Regions from separate parts of the Homo sapiens genome. Here all the other regions are linked to region 1. The links are contacts of gene promoters, found by promoter capture Hi-C in blood cells and fetal thymus (Javierre and others, 2016). All regions are on one chromosome and are shown on one strand. The core of a region is centred on a gene start or on the middle of the fragment in contact, and the rest is flanking DNA. Distances in the headings are between cores, read along the strand shown.

Region 1 (4,380 bases), core at 1-2,500:
AAGGAATTCCTAAACTAGGCCTCCACCAGGTTTGAAACAGTTTTACCTTATTCTCCCCAGGGGCCATGTTCTCATAGATTTCCTTCAGTTTGCCATAGTGTGGACGCAGAAATTTGAGAGGCTTGGGCACTGAAGTCATGGAAGTTGTAGAAGAACGAATCTGCCTTCGCAATTCCTCCAGCGCTGGTCGATACAGGGATGTATCCTTCTCCTGATCAAGAGACGACAGGGCTCAGACAAAAAGGAGTCACACCCCTTCAAGTCATAATACAGAGATATTTAACTTAACAACTCCTCCAAGGAAATGCTGTGTCTTATTCATTCATCTGTGATTCCTCAACTCCCTGCACCCTGCCTGGCACAAAAACAAATGACCCAAGTTAAGAGGTAAGAACTCTGCTTCTCCCACAAGAGAAAGCTGCAAAACTGTACAAATACCCTTTGTAACTCTCCTGCCTCCCAACATCATCATAACACTGACCCTAAAATACAGTCCACCGTACATAGCAGTTGCCTCAAAAAAGAATAAAACAAGTGGGAAAGATCCAAACATGCACCGAATCATGTTAACATCGTGACTCACCCCTAGTCGTTCCACGAGCATCTCCAGTTCATCTTGAAGCTGTTTATCCTCTTCAGACTGGAGGGTTGGGAGAAGCAGCTCATGAAGAGAAGGAATCCCAAAGACGTCCTCCTCCCACTTACCCGGGGCAGGTGAAGAATAAGCCTGCCTCCTTAGGAGGGGCCAGGTGGACAAGGAAACCGAGTGGGAATGGGAAGCCCTGGTGAGAAATCAGCCTGGGTTCTGAATCAGGCTCTACTTGAATGCCACTCTAGGAAACGGAGGTGACAATGACCTGCCCGAGTCCACTTCACGCGGCGGTGGTGAGGGTTGGTGGGGACGGCGGAGGTGACAGCGCGGAACGGAGAATGAGGAGCAGAGAGGCAAGGTGCCGGGAGTCCCGAGGGTCGCCCCAACCGCCCTCTCCCTGGCGCGGTGGGGTAGTTGGGTGTCGGGCCTGAGGCCTGCGGAGCCGCCGTGACTCAGCCCCGCAGCCTCCTTCGCCGACTCTCGGGGTCGCGCCTCACCAGCTCCTGTTCTTTGTCCTTGTCCCCGGCATCCCGCCGCTCCTTGCCGCTCGGCTTCTCGTCCGTGCCGCCGGGGGCCGCCGCTGGAGACTGCTGGGGCTGCACCGGCGCCTTGTCCCGGCCTCCCTCCTCCATCTCCGCCGCCACTGCCGGCCCGCTGCGCGCGCACCCGCTCGCACCGCCCTTTTTCCCAGACCAACTCGCGCGCGTCGGTCGCGGCGCCCCTCCTCCTCCAGAGCCCGCCTGCGACCGGAAACGCCGGGGCGAGCCGGGGCGCTCGGCGACCCACCCACCCCCTCGGCCTGAGAGCCCCGCCCTCGGACCCCGCCCTCGGAGGCAGGTGGAGACTACAATTCCCAGCCTCCCCCGCGCCATAGTCGCCCCTGGCCCCCGACCTCTTCGGAGTTTCCTGAAACCCGCGGGACTTGGCCGTGTGGGGTTTGGGTTCGCTCACTGCTGTAGATGGGCGGTCTGCGAGCGGAGTTACCGAGTTTTACTCCGCCACAGGTTTTTCTCATAACGGTGTAAATAGAACCCACAGTGACACTCCAGTTGACTGCGTGGCGCGACAGACAAACTAGATTTCTTGACGTCCAGGACGCTTGATTGCCGCCTGTATAAAGTCTGTGTAACTGTGTCTAGCCCCACACCACTGTGGAATATTAACCTCATTTGGTTTTGTTGTTGTTGTTGCTTTTGAGAAGGAGGCTCGCTCTCTCGCCCAGGCTGGAGTGCAGTGGCGCGATCTCGGCTCACTGCAAACTCCGCCTACCAGGTTCAAGTGATTCTCGTGCCTCAACCTCCCGAGTAGCTGGGATTACAGGCGCCCGCCACCACGCCCAGCTAATTTTTGTATTTTTTAGTAGAGACGGGGGTTTCACTATGTTGGCCAGGCTGGTCTCGAACTCCTGACCTCAAGTGATCTGCCCGCCTCAGCCTCCCAAAGAGCTGTAATTACAGGTGTGAACCACCGCGCCCGGCCTATTAACCTCATTTGATATTCCTCCCCAGTTGAAAGAGAGTACTCTGCTATTCCCGTGGCTACCATTTTAAATACTTTGGGGAGCCAGGTGGAGTTGACATCGATCAATAAAGCCCTGTGCTCCCCGCCAAGTTCTGGAGCTAAAAGCAGAACAAGACAAGGTCTTCGTCCTCTATCTTCTCGTCTTTCCCTGTGAAGCCTTAGAGGCGTGTGACTGACGCGCTTATGTCAGGACTGCTTTCGAGTGATTCCATGCACTTCTTACAATCTTTTGAGATTGGTAGGGTTAGGTCCATTTTACAGAGAAGATCATATCAAGTAGTAAAATGAGGATTTATTTTTTATTTTATTTATTTGTTTTGAGATAGTGTTTCTCTCCTGTTGCCCAGGCTGGAGTGCAATGGCGCAATCTCGGCTCACCACAACCTTCGCCTCCCGGGTGCAAGTGATTCTCCTGCCTCAGCCTCCCGAGTAGCTGGATAAAGAGGAGTTTTAGAAAAAAATCCCTCTACAGATGACTGAAGAAAGCATGAAAATGTATGGACACCGTGAAGCCAGAGATAGAATAGGCAGAACAGTTATGGACTGTTGAATTTTTGTGCCACCACGCCCGGCTAATTTTTGTATTTTTAGTAGAGACGGGGTTTCTCCATGTTGGTCAGGCTGGTCTCCAACTCCCGACCTCAGGTGATCCGCCCGCCTCGGCCTCCCAAAGTTCTGGGATTACAAGCGTGAGCCACCGCGCCCGGCGGAATCAAAATTTAAAGCTCAGTCTTTCAGTCTTCAAAGCCCTTGACTGTTTTAGGCAAACCCCAGAGTTTCTTCTTCAGCTGTGTGTGTGTGTGTGTGCGTGTAAGGTGAGAAAAAAGGAAGTATCTCTTCTCCCTTTCACCTAGTGGGAACACTCAGGAGTCTTCTAGCAATCTTATTTTATGGGTTCTGACACATTGAAGAAAAAGACACCTAGTACAACATATCACAGAGTGAATGTTGGGTAAATGTTTGTGTAGATACGGAAGTAAAGGTCTGAATCCATTTTAAATACCTGTTGCTCTTTTCCACTCAGTGCTTGGATTCTAGGCATGACCTTCCATTGCCATTGCCAATGACTCCCCCAGCGCTGGTCTGCAGACAAAAATTCAACAGTCCATAACTGTTCTGCCTATTCTATCTCTGGCTTCACGGTGTCCATACATTTTCATGCTTTCTTCAGTCATCTGTAGAGGGATTTTTTTCTAAAACTCCTCTTTATCCATGACTTCCTTCTTCTTTTTTTTTTTTTTTTCCAGACGGAGTCTCGCTCTGTCGTCCAGGCTGGAGTGCAGTGGCATGATCTCAGCTTGCTGCAACCTCTGCCTCCCGGGTTCAGGTGATTTTCCTGCTTCAGCCTCCCAAGTAACTGGGACTACAGGCATGCACCACCACACCCCGCTAATGTTTGTATTTTTAGTCGAGACGGGGATTCACCATGTTGGCCAGGCTGGTCTTGAACTCCTGACCTCAAGTTATCTGCCTGCCTTGGCCTCCCAAAGTGCTGGAATTACAGGCATGAGCCACTGCGCCCGGCCTGGAACTGTGTCTTATTCATCTTTATGCTCCTAGCCTCCAGCCTAGCGCCTGGCTTGTAGTGAGCCTTGATAAATATTTGCAGAATGCATGCATGCGGAATGAATGAATGAATGAATGGCTTTGCATTCATCTTCAGGCCATCTTTGTGTATAATAACAACCCACTGGGAGCTGTCTTTGGAGGCCAGAACTAGGCACTGGAAAATCATGAGGTTTCTCCATTTGTAAATCATGATAGACCCACTAAAACTGCTTTTTTTTTTTTTTTTTTTTTTTTTTTTTTTTTTTTTGAGATGGAGTCTCCCACTGTCGCCCAGCCTGGAGTGTAGTGGCACGATCTCGGCTCACTGCAACCTCCGCCTCCCGGGTTCAAGCGATTCTCCTGCTGGTCTTGAACTCCTGACATAGTGATCCACCCACCTCAGCCTCCCGAAGTGCTGGGATTACAGGCATGAGCCACTGCGCCCAGCCTGCTTTTTTTAATTAAAAAAAAAAAATAGGACCTCCAATCCTGCAGAAAACTGTGCTTATTTTTATGAGGGACTCTCTTCCACCCGGACATTTCCAAAGTGCTATCAAGGGTGTGAAATCATACTTCTTGGCATATGTTAGCTTATTGTGGATGGGAATTAGTTAGACTTACCAATGGGACTGCATAAGGGATGGCCTAGCACTTTACCTATAATTGCTTCCCTGTGTCCACCGAGGAGCACCATCCCTTATTTCCCCTTCTGCCTGGAC
Region 2 (4,380 bases), core at 1,406-3,905, 130 kb after region 1:
AACACTACCTCTGATTCTCTCAAGCTTTTCTCATATATTTGTTCCGGACATGAGCTTTTTCCAAGGGATCAAGACCCAAGGAGAGGAGCGGGGAGGAAGGAGGCGACTACTTGGAAGAAACTAAACCTTTTCACAAATAAGTCCATGACTGTACACTCTTCCCGGAGGTCAGCTACAGCTTTTCATGAACGAGCCGATGTTCTCCTTAGCTATACCTATGCGACTGTGTATGCCTTCTAGTGACAGGCATATATGTTGCTTAGAAGACGTTCGAAGAGTTGAATTTAGTTTGACATGGGATTTGAAATCCCCTCTTTGATAAACAGAATCTTTACATCCAAGCTGAGGAGACAGACCCAACCCTCACACATGAAAGGCCTGCTTGGTTCTTGCAGAGTCTTAAGAAAATCTGTTGGCTCTTCTCTTTCTGTAGGCAGAGATAAACTGCTGCCTTCCTTGGGCAGGACTACGCCTGTCATGGGAGGAAGGAAGGGCAAGAAAGGACAGATCTGGTTGCAAATGTTACAGTCCTTCCCAGCCTCCAGCCAGAAGCCACGATGTGGCAGGATGAAGATCTGACCTCTCTCACATCATAGTCACGGCCTGAAGTCATTAAGTGACTGAATACAGGCACTTCTAATTTTTGAACCAGCACTCAAGGCTTCACTTCTACCTTTGCAAAAGCTTTATCTTCCAAAAATACCCTAAACTGCTACCAATTTAGAGTAAATAATAATAATGATAAAATAATAATAATAATAGCTACCATTTATTGAGCACCTACTCTACTGTGTGCCAGGCACTGTGCTAGGCACTTTTCGTACAATATCTAATTTAAATCCTCACAACAACCCTGTGAGGTAGGTATTATTATCATCATTTTACATACGAGGGAACTGAGGCTCAGAGAGGTTAAATAACTCTATCACACAACCAAAAATAGTAGAGCTGGAATTCAAACCCAAAACCACCTAACTCCAAATCCCATGCTCCAATGAATTAAAGTAGAGAGGGGAGAGGGAGGGCCAAATTCAAGACAGAGTGTTGGAGTGAAATGGATATGATATGCTGATAAGATATGGGAAGAAGGAATGTAAGCTCATAAATGTTTCTAGCTGGTGAGCCTATGTAGATTGTGATGAAGTAACCAGGAGAGGAATTCAGGAGGAACATACTTGGTTGGGCAGATGAGTTGAGTCTATACGGAACTGTCCATAGAGATGTCCAGTAGGTAATACCAATACAGATCTAAAGTCTGGGGGAAGTTGGGGGTTGGAGCTATGTATTTGGGAATCACCAGCATATCAGCAGCAATTGAGGACATCAGGATGAATGACTCCATTTTGGGAGTAAATAGAAAGGAAAGAGAAGTGAATCAAAGATGGAACGATGGAAGCACTGATACTGACAGGCATGAGCAATCGTTGAGAAATTCTCAAGAGAGTCGGACAAGACAGAGTCAGAGAGAGAAGTACATGAAACAGCCCTGTAGTGGTGGCTAGAAGCCATGGACTGGGTTGGGAACAATTCTAGAGCTCCCAGAAGGCAGGCAAGATTGAGTCACACTTCCAACAAAGCCCTCTGCACACCAAAACCCCAGGAAGTATTGTTTTTCTTTGTTAGTTTGCTTTTGAGACAGAATCTCACTCTGTCACCCAGGCTGGAGTGCGATCTCAACTCACTGCAACCTCCGCTTGCTTCCTGGATTCAAGCGATTCTTGTGCCTCAGCCTCCTGAGTAGCTGAGATTACAGGCAGGTGCCAAAACACCCATCTAATTTTTGTATTTTTAGTAGAGACAGGGTTTTGCTATGTTGGCCAGGCTGGTCTCGAACTCCCGACCTCAAGTGATCCACCTGTCTCAGCCTCCCAAAGTGCTGGGATTACAGACGTGAGCCACCGCACCCGTCCAAGGAAGTATTGTTAATTGAAATAAATGCCAAAATGTTCCTACCTTGGTTTACCCCAAAACCTGGAGCTAAGAACTTCATCTCACTTTTGACACCCCAGCCCCCAAAATATGGAAGCCCAGGAGAGCCAGGAGAATTTATAGCAGAGGCTTAAAGAGAAAGTTATGATTTGTTTAAAGTAGAGAATAAGGTGAAAAATAAAACCTGGTACTCTGTCTGGAAGTCCTGGAAGTCTCCTTGCCCAACCTCAACTGGCCTGTGGGCTCCTGTGTCCTTGCTCTGGGATGCCATGGTGAATGTGAAAACAGGGGAGGTTGTGTGTGGGGGTGGGAATGGCCTGTCGGTTGCAAGGCGAGTCCTTTGCTGAGCCCAGCCTGAGACCCAGCTTATGGGCTTTATCCAGGTGAGAAAATGCTGGGGACATGTGTGCGAGGTTTAAGGTCTACCAGGAAGGGGAGAAGGGTGTCAGGGGACCAGCCCCACAACCTAGGAGAGGATTAGGAGGGTCCAGCCCTTTGGGCAGGGACCAGCCCTGAGGCTTAAATGAACTTGCATAGGCACCTGTGTATGCATCTCTGTGCATGTATGCATACATGAGTGAGAGAGAAAGATAAAGAGAGCTAAAGAGGCCCCCCTCCCCCCGCCGCAGGCTGCCACACGTGGTGCGATCCGATTCTCTCTGGAAAGGAGGAGAGTCTCTCATGCATGGGTGAAGTTGGGCCCTCCCCAGAAGCCTAGTGACTCATTATGTTAACGTGTGGGTGTGGGGGCTGGACATCCTTGGGAAGCCCTGAGGGGCTGCTGAAGCAGGGTTCCTGGTCTCCTCGGAGGCTGGGCCTCCCCTCGCTGGGGGCTCACAGAAAGTCAAACAGCCCGAAATTCTTGGCTGCTCCAGGCCCAGGGTAAATTGGGGGAGGAAAAAAGAAAGAAAAGAAATGTTTCAGGCCTGGAGGTGAGATGAGCCTGCTGGTTAGTAGGGTTAGGGGTCTGAAGGAACCAGCACGCAGGGCAGGCATGGGGCAGGGGTAGAGCAGAGATGCTCCCTGGAAGCCACCAGCTGCTCAGGCAACTGAGGGGGCCCTCTGGGCCTCTGATCTAGGCACAGGCAGGGATGGCATGGATGGCTATTGGAGGCGACTACAGCTTTAGGTTGCAGGACTGAGGCAGCAGGCAGGGGGATGGTTAGTAGGGGCAGATGAAGCAAATATATTTTGGTTTCAGTAATGTGGGGTAAAGTCAAGAGGTTTGCACACGTGCCTGATGGGGTGGGGTTAATAGAGGGATGATGTAGCTGAATAAATGGTGAAAGGGAGCTAAAGGGGAAACGAGAGAATGAGGGAGTGAGCGTGCCACCAAGGTCATTGCTGGGGTCAACTCCCAAAATGGGGGTTGCAGAGGGGAGTAAGGGGTAGCACCAACAAGTCTGGTCCCAGAGACAAAAGGGGTCCTGGGAAGTCCTGCGCAGGGATTAGTGGGCAGAGGAAACGAACTGGGGCCAGAGGCAGGTTAGGGGGCTGCAGAGCCAATCGGTAGGTGCACCCCACCCTCGCAGCACCCTGCGAGCAGTTAGCGCACCTGGATTTAGTTCCTTTTATTTCCCTTTCAGGTACCAGACAAAGTAAAAAAGACGGACGGATGGAGAGAGGAACGCAGCCGGCTGGGGTGGGAGCGGAATGGAGCTGGGGGAGGGGCCCTGCTCACATCACATCCACAAAGAACTCACTGGGGTTTCCCATGGCCATGCGGAAGGACTGTCTGCTGGCGGTCAGTTCCGGGGGCACTGAGGCCAGGTCGCGGCCCGGAGGGGCTCCTGGGGGCCCCATGGCCGCGGGCGGCGGGGGCATCATCAGCATGGGGGGGCCGTAGAGAGGGGGCACTCCGGGAGGACCGTAGCTCGGGTGTGTGTGGTGGCTGCGAAGGCTGCTGGCCAGGGAATGGTGGCTGCGGTGGCTGTGCTCGCTGGCCGCCGGCCCTGAGCGCTCGCTGGGCGCCCGCTCCCGCGGCCCCCGCAGGCTGCTGCGTGTGGTGTGGTCCGATTCGCTGCCGCTGCCCCCGGACTTGGAGTCCCCGGCCTTCGGGTCCTTCTCCTTCCTCCGATCGCTGCCGCTACGGTTGGAGCCACTGCTCCGACTGCCTGTAGGAGGCAAACAGGGCCGGGGTGGGGCAGGCTGAGCGGGCGGGGGAAGCCTGGGGCCCACCTATAGCCTTCCTCCACGGCCCCTCTACCTTACCTTCGCTGTGCTGACTGCTGGCGCTGCCCCCGCCGTAGCTGTAGCCCAGCTCCGGGAAGCCCGGGTGCGGGTTGTATGGGTGCGGGGGTGGCGGGTACTGGTACGGGAAAGCCATGGGCCAAGGGGCGGCCCCCGGGTGCGGCAAAGGGGCCAGTGTGTCCTGGTCAGAGGCGCCACTGGAGCCATCGTGATCGTGGAGAGACAGGTTGGCCATGTCTGTGAAGGGGAGGGCCGGATGGA
Region 3 (4,380 bases), core at 1,324-3,823, 110 kb after region 1:
TCACTATTGGTGAGGGGCTCAGAGGCTGGAAGCCTGGCAAGTAGGCAGGCATGATCCTATAACGGATGGCTCCCTGATACACCCACCTGCAGGTCTGAAGTTGGAAGAGAATTATGAGGGCTGTGAGCAAGCTCTCTGGAGTGCTGAGCTAAGGGTGCCCATGGCCACAGACATGGGAGGAAGGATGCCAAGGAGGCAGGCACATTAGTCGTCCTTCTGCCAGCTTCACCAGTCCACAGAGCCTTGCTGTCTTTATCTTCTTTAACCCCCGAAACAGGGCTCTCTCCCCGGCGACCCATACCATGCTACCCTCAGCAGCTCAGAGTTAAGATTCTTTGGTCAAGCTTTTTTTTTTTTTTTCTTGAGAAGAAGTCTCGCTCTGTCGCCCAGGCTGAGTGCAATGGCACGATCTCAGCTTACTGCAACTTCCGCCTCCCAGGTTCAAGCTATTCTCCTGCCTCAGCCTCTTGAGTAGCTGGGACTACAGGCATGTGCCACCACACCTGGCTAATTTTTGTATTTTTAGTAGAGACGGGGCCTCCCTATGTTGGCCTGGCTGGTCTTGAACTCCTGACCTCAGGTGACCTGCCCACCTTGGCCTCCTAAAGTGCTGGGATTACAGGCGTGAGCCACTGCTCCTGGCCTGGTCGAGCTTTTTGACTACAATCTGCATGAAGGCGGCAAGTTCTTTCTGCTGACTTTGTTGTCACTGAGAGCAACGCAATATGTCTGTTTTATTTTTTTCTTTTGAGAGAAGTGGTCTTGCTAAGTTTCCCAGGCTGGCCGCAAACCCCTGGGCTCAAGCAATCCTCCCACCTTGGCCTCCCCAACAGCTGGGACTACAGGTGCGTACCACTGTGCTCAGCTCAAATGTCTCTATTTTAACGTCCTCTGCATAACAATGACATATAACAGCTAACTCCTCAAGAAATAATATTTATAAATGATACTACCTGTGTTCAACATCTCTCCCCTCTTAAAGATTGCTTCATTTGAAAAGAAAGTGTTCTATGCCTTCCTGTTAGACCCTGTCCTAAATTCCCTATTTCCCAGGCCCCTCCTATATGGTTAGAGGAAATATAAAGAACATGCAATCACCCAAGCAAAGTGAGGACAAAGATGGTTTCTCTTCAGTGCTGAGTCTAGAGAGCAGAGAAGCAGGGCAAGCCGGAGCCAGATATGACTGGAGAAAGCAGCTGGCCACGTGTGAGGCCAGGTTACACAATCAGTTCAACTGCCCATCAGTGGGGGCTGTGACGACAGAACCCAAGACCCCTTCAGCTGAGGCTGAGCCCAGGCTAGGGCTAACAGCACCGCAATGATGCCAATACACTGCCCTTCATTCCACTGGCTCAGCCCACCCCAAGGTCAGGCAGGCAGATGACCTCCATGCCCCAGTAGCTTGACAATGTCTCTTCTAGAGGCAAGGCTGGTGCTGCTATTGCTTCCTACACGTGAGGGATACAAGTGCCATAGGAAAACGCCAATCCGAGAGTCCACAGCCCTCAGTAGGAGGCAACCACTGCCCAGGGAGCAGCAGACATGAGGCAAAGGAGACGCGGGGAGAGATTTAATTTACATAGCAGCCACTTGGGGTCCAGTCAGAGCTGGGGCAGTGGGGGAATCTATAACCCCAGAGGGTACCCCCCAGACCCCCACCCCCGGGAGACCAGTCCTCACCAACCCTTGGATGGGCTCCCAAGGTTGTGCAGAAGATGCTCCAGTCAAAAGGATAGAGACATTTGGGAATAAGGCTGTCCCCAAGTTGGGGGAAGTCCACGGCCTGGAGTGGTGGCCTACATGGTGGCCCAGGGGTCTGAGAGACCAGTCCATGTCCTGGGCGAGTCCTCAGCCTGGTGGCCCTAGAGGAAGCCTTCGCGGCGGAACTGTTCCTGGAGGAGGGCGCGGTACTGGTCAAATCCTCCTTCCACACGGGTGACGCCGCCTCCTTCGCATACCCACAACTCCCGGCACACCAGCCTGATAAAGCGCTCATCGTGGGACACCAGAATCACACCACCCTGAAAGACAGGAGGGCAGGAGGTGCTCAGGGGGACACAAGAGGCACCGAGGCCTGGGAGGAGTGGTCAGGGTGAAGGCACACTCACCCTGAAATTGTTGAGGGCACGGCCCAGAGCCTCAATGGTCTCCATGTCCAGGTGGTTTGTGGGTTCATCCAGAATGTAGAAGTTGGGGCTGGAAGGCAGAACCAGGAAGGTGGGCAGTGAAGGGGTGCGGTGAGAGAAAATAAAGCCTTCTGATACAGTTTTCTACTGGGCAAGAAGGGGAAATGGGAGGGGAAGAGCTCTGGAAAATGAGGCCTCACCAGGGCATAGTCATCTGAGCAAAGGCCACTCGGCTCTTCTGGCCCCCAGACAGGCTGGCAAGAGGACGCATGGCCAGTTCTCCGGAGATGCCATACCGACCCAGCTGGTGACGGTACTCCTCCTCAGGCCGCCCTGGAAAAGGACTCCCCAGATCAGGTGGCTTCTTGGCCCAACACCCTCCCTGTGCCCTCCAGCCACACCTCCAAGTCCCCATGTCCTTCCATCTAGGCTTGGCGGGGCTGCTCTGCACGCACCCCAAGGCAGGCCTAGCTGCCGGGGTCAGCCTCAGCCCTCTTCCCTACTCAAACTCTTCCCCCGACTCAAATCCCTAACTCACCAGGAAACTTGCGTGCCAGCAGTTCCACAGCACTGACGTTTAGGTCCAGCTGCTCCACATGGTGCTGGCTGAAATAGCCAATCTTCAGATTCCTGCAGGCAGAAGCCGAGGTGGAAAAACAGACAAAGGCAATGGCCACGAAGGAGCGCAGGCAGCATGGGTGCCTGCAAATGTGCTCATGGGGGCAGGGGTGCGGGTGGGCCTGACCTGTGAGCGTGTCTGATGCCCCGAACAGGTGCCAGGTCCCCCAAAAGCAGCTTCAGCATGGTAGACTTCCCAGCCCCATTCTCTCCAACCTTAAGAAACATGAAAATGTCATACAGTGTGTGCCAGAAAAATAAATACGGTATGTTCTCATTCATATGTGGGCACTAAAAAGTGTTGAGCACATAGAAGTAGAGAGCAGAGTTGTGGTTACTAGAGGCTGGGAAGGATAAGGGGGGAGGAGGGGAATTGAGAGAGGGGTTCGGGAGAGGTTGGTTAACTGAAACAAAATTGCAGTTAGATAGGAGGAATGGAGGAATAAGTTCTAGGGTTCTACAGCACTGCAGGGACGCTACAGTTCACAATGATAGACTGTACATTTTCAAAAAGCTAGAAGATTCTGAATGTTCCCAACATAAAGTGATAAATGTTTATGATGAATATGCTAATTACCCTGATTTGATCATTACACATTGTATACATGCATGGAAGTATCACTCTGTACCCCATAAATATGTACAATTATGTATCAATAAAAAGAGCACCGCTGTGTGTAACACAGAGGAGAAGGAAATTAGAAGGGGTCCCAGGCAGTCCCCAGTCCCGATGACTCCTTCAACAACCAAAAAAATATTTTTAAGGACTCTAGCCGGGCACGGTGGCTCAGGCCTGTATTCCCAGCACTTTGGGAGGCTGAGGCAGGCAGATCATTTGAGGTCAGGAGTTTGAGACCAGCCTGGCCAATATGGTAAAACCCCATCTCTACTAAAAATGCAAAAAATTAGCTGGGCATGGTGGCGGGTGCCTGTAATCTCAGCTACTTGTGGGGCTGAGGGAGAACTGTTTGAACCCGGGAGGCGAAAGCTGCGGTGAGCCAAGATTGTGCCATTGCACTCCAGCCGGGGCAACAGGGCAGGACTCTGTCTCCGAAAAAAAAAAAAAAGGAACTCTAACTCTACAGAAAAATGCATATACTAAGGTGAGCAATACTTGAGTATTTGCTAAGTGCTGGGGACTTACTTTTCCCAAGAACCAAGTGAGGTAGATGTCAGCGCCATCTTAAGAGTTAGGAAGCTGCTTGGTAACCAAGCTAGGAAATGGCATAGTCAAGATCCGAAGTCTGACCCTGAAGCCCATGCTCTCTCCTCAATGTCTCCAGGTTTAGAAAACTCAGAACCGAGACCAATAAGGTAAAGCACTGCTTTAAGTATTTTTAAGTATTTTTAAAACACTATACACTAGGCTCTTCCTCCCTGAAGAGCAGCGCTGTGCGGCCAGAGGACAGGGCTAGTGTAAGTCCTGCAAAATCCTTAGCCCGGGCCCTCACTCCTGTTCCACAGACCTCGTCCCTTTACAGCCTGAGGATCTGGGCCAATCCACACCACACACTTAGACAGGAGAGTCCCAGCTCGCAGCACAGAGAAACAGCAGCCTTACCACACAGATGCGAGACTCGAGATCAGCAGACACAGAGAGGCGACTGAAGATGACGTGCTTCGGATCGTAGTAGAA

Evidence for each region. Contacts are between HindIII fragments. The CHiCAGO score rates a contact against its expected background, and 5 or more counts as called.
Region 2: a fragment that was not itself captured here is called in contact with the fragment with the promoter of PSMD2 in region 1 in 14 of 17 cell types (naive CD4 T cells, non-activated CD4 T cells, naive CD8 T cells and 11 more); the score reaches 12.3 in naive CD4 T cells.
Region 3: a fragment that was not itself captured here is called in contact with the fragment with the promoter of PSMD2 in region 1 in 2 of 17 cell types (naive CD4 T cells and total CD4 T cells); the score reaches 5.9 in naive CD4 T cells.

The regions. Positions count from the first base shown.
Region 1 is chr3:184,296,111-184,300,490 of GRCh38, reverse strand. It overlaps PSMD2 (proteasome 26S subunit ubiquitin receptor, non-ATPase 2), which reads right to left and starts at 1,250. Exons shown (of 21, transcript NM_002808.5): 1 at 1,090-1,250; 2 at 584-640; 3 at 47-211. The coding sequence starts at 1,224. RefSeq lists a silencer at 1,243-1,582. The HindIII fragment of the contact is 6,965 bases long and covers 1-4,380 here.
Region 2 is chr3:184,169,982-184,174,361 of GRCh38, reverse strand. It overlaps DVL3 (dishevelled segment polarity protein 3), which reads right to left. Exons shown (of 15, transcript NM_004423.4): 14 at 4,141-4,356; 15 at 748-4,043. The coding sequence ends at 3,607. Among named protein-coding and RNA genes, the nearest start is that of AP2M1, 2.7 kb to the left of the region's middle. RefSeq lists an enhancer at 2,527-2,821. The HindIII fragment of the contact is 3,938 bases long and covers 687-4,380 here.
Region 3 is chr3:184,191,181-184,195,560 of GRCh38, reverse strand. It overlaps ABCF3 (ATP binding cassette subfamily F member 3), which reads right to left. Exons shown (of 21, transcript NM_018358.3): 16 at 4,306-4,380; 17 at 2,872-2,960; 18 at 2,665-2,756; 19 at 2,327-2,459; 20 at 2,109-2,196; 21 at 1,556-2,021. The coding sequence ends at 1,863. Among named protein-coding and RNA genes, the nearest start is that of ABCF3, 7.2 kb to the right of the region's middle. RefSeq lists an enhancer at 4,084-4,380. The HindIII fragment of the contact is 4,453 bases long and covers 347-4,380 here.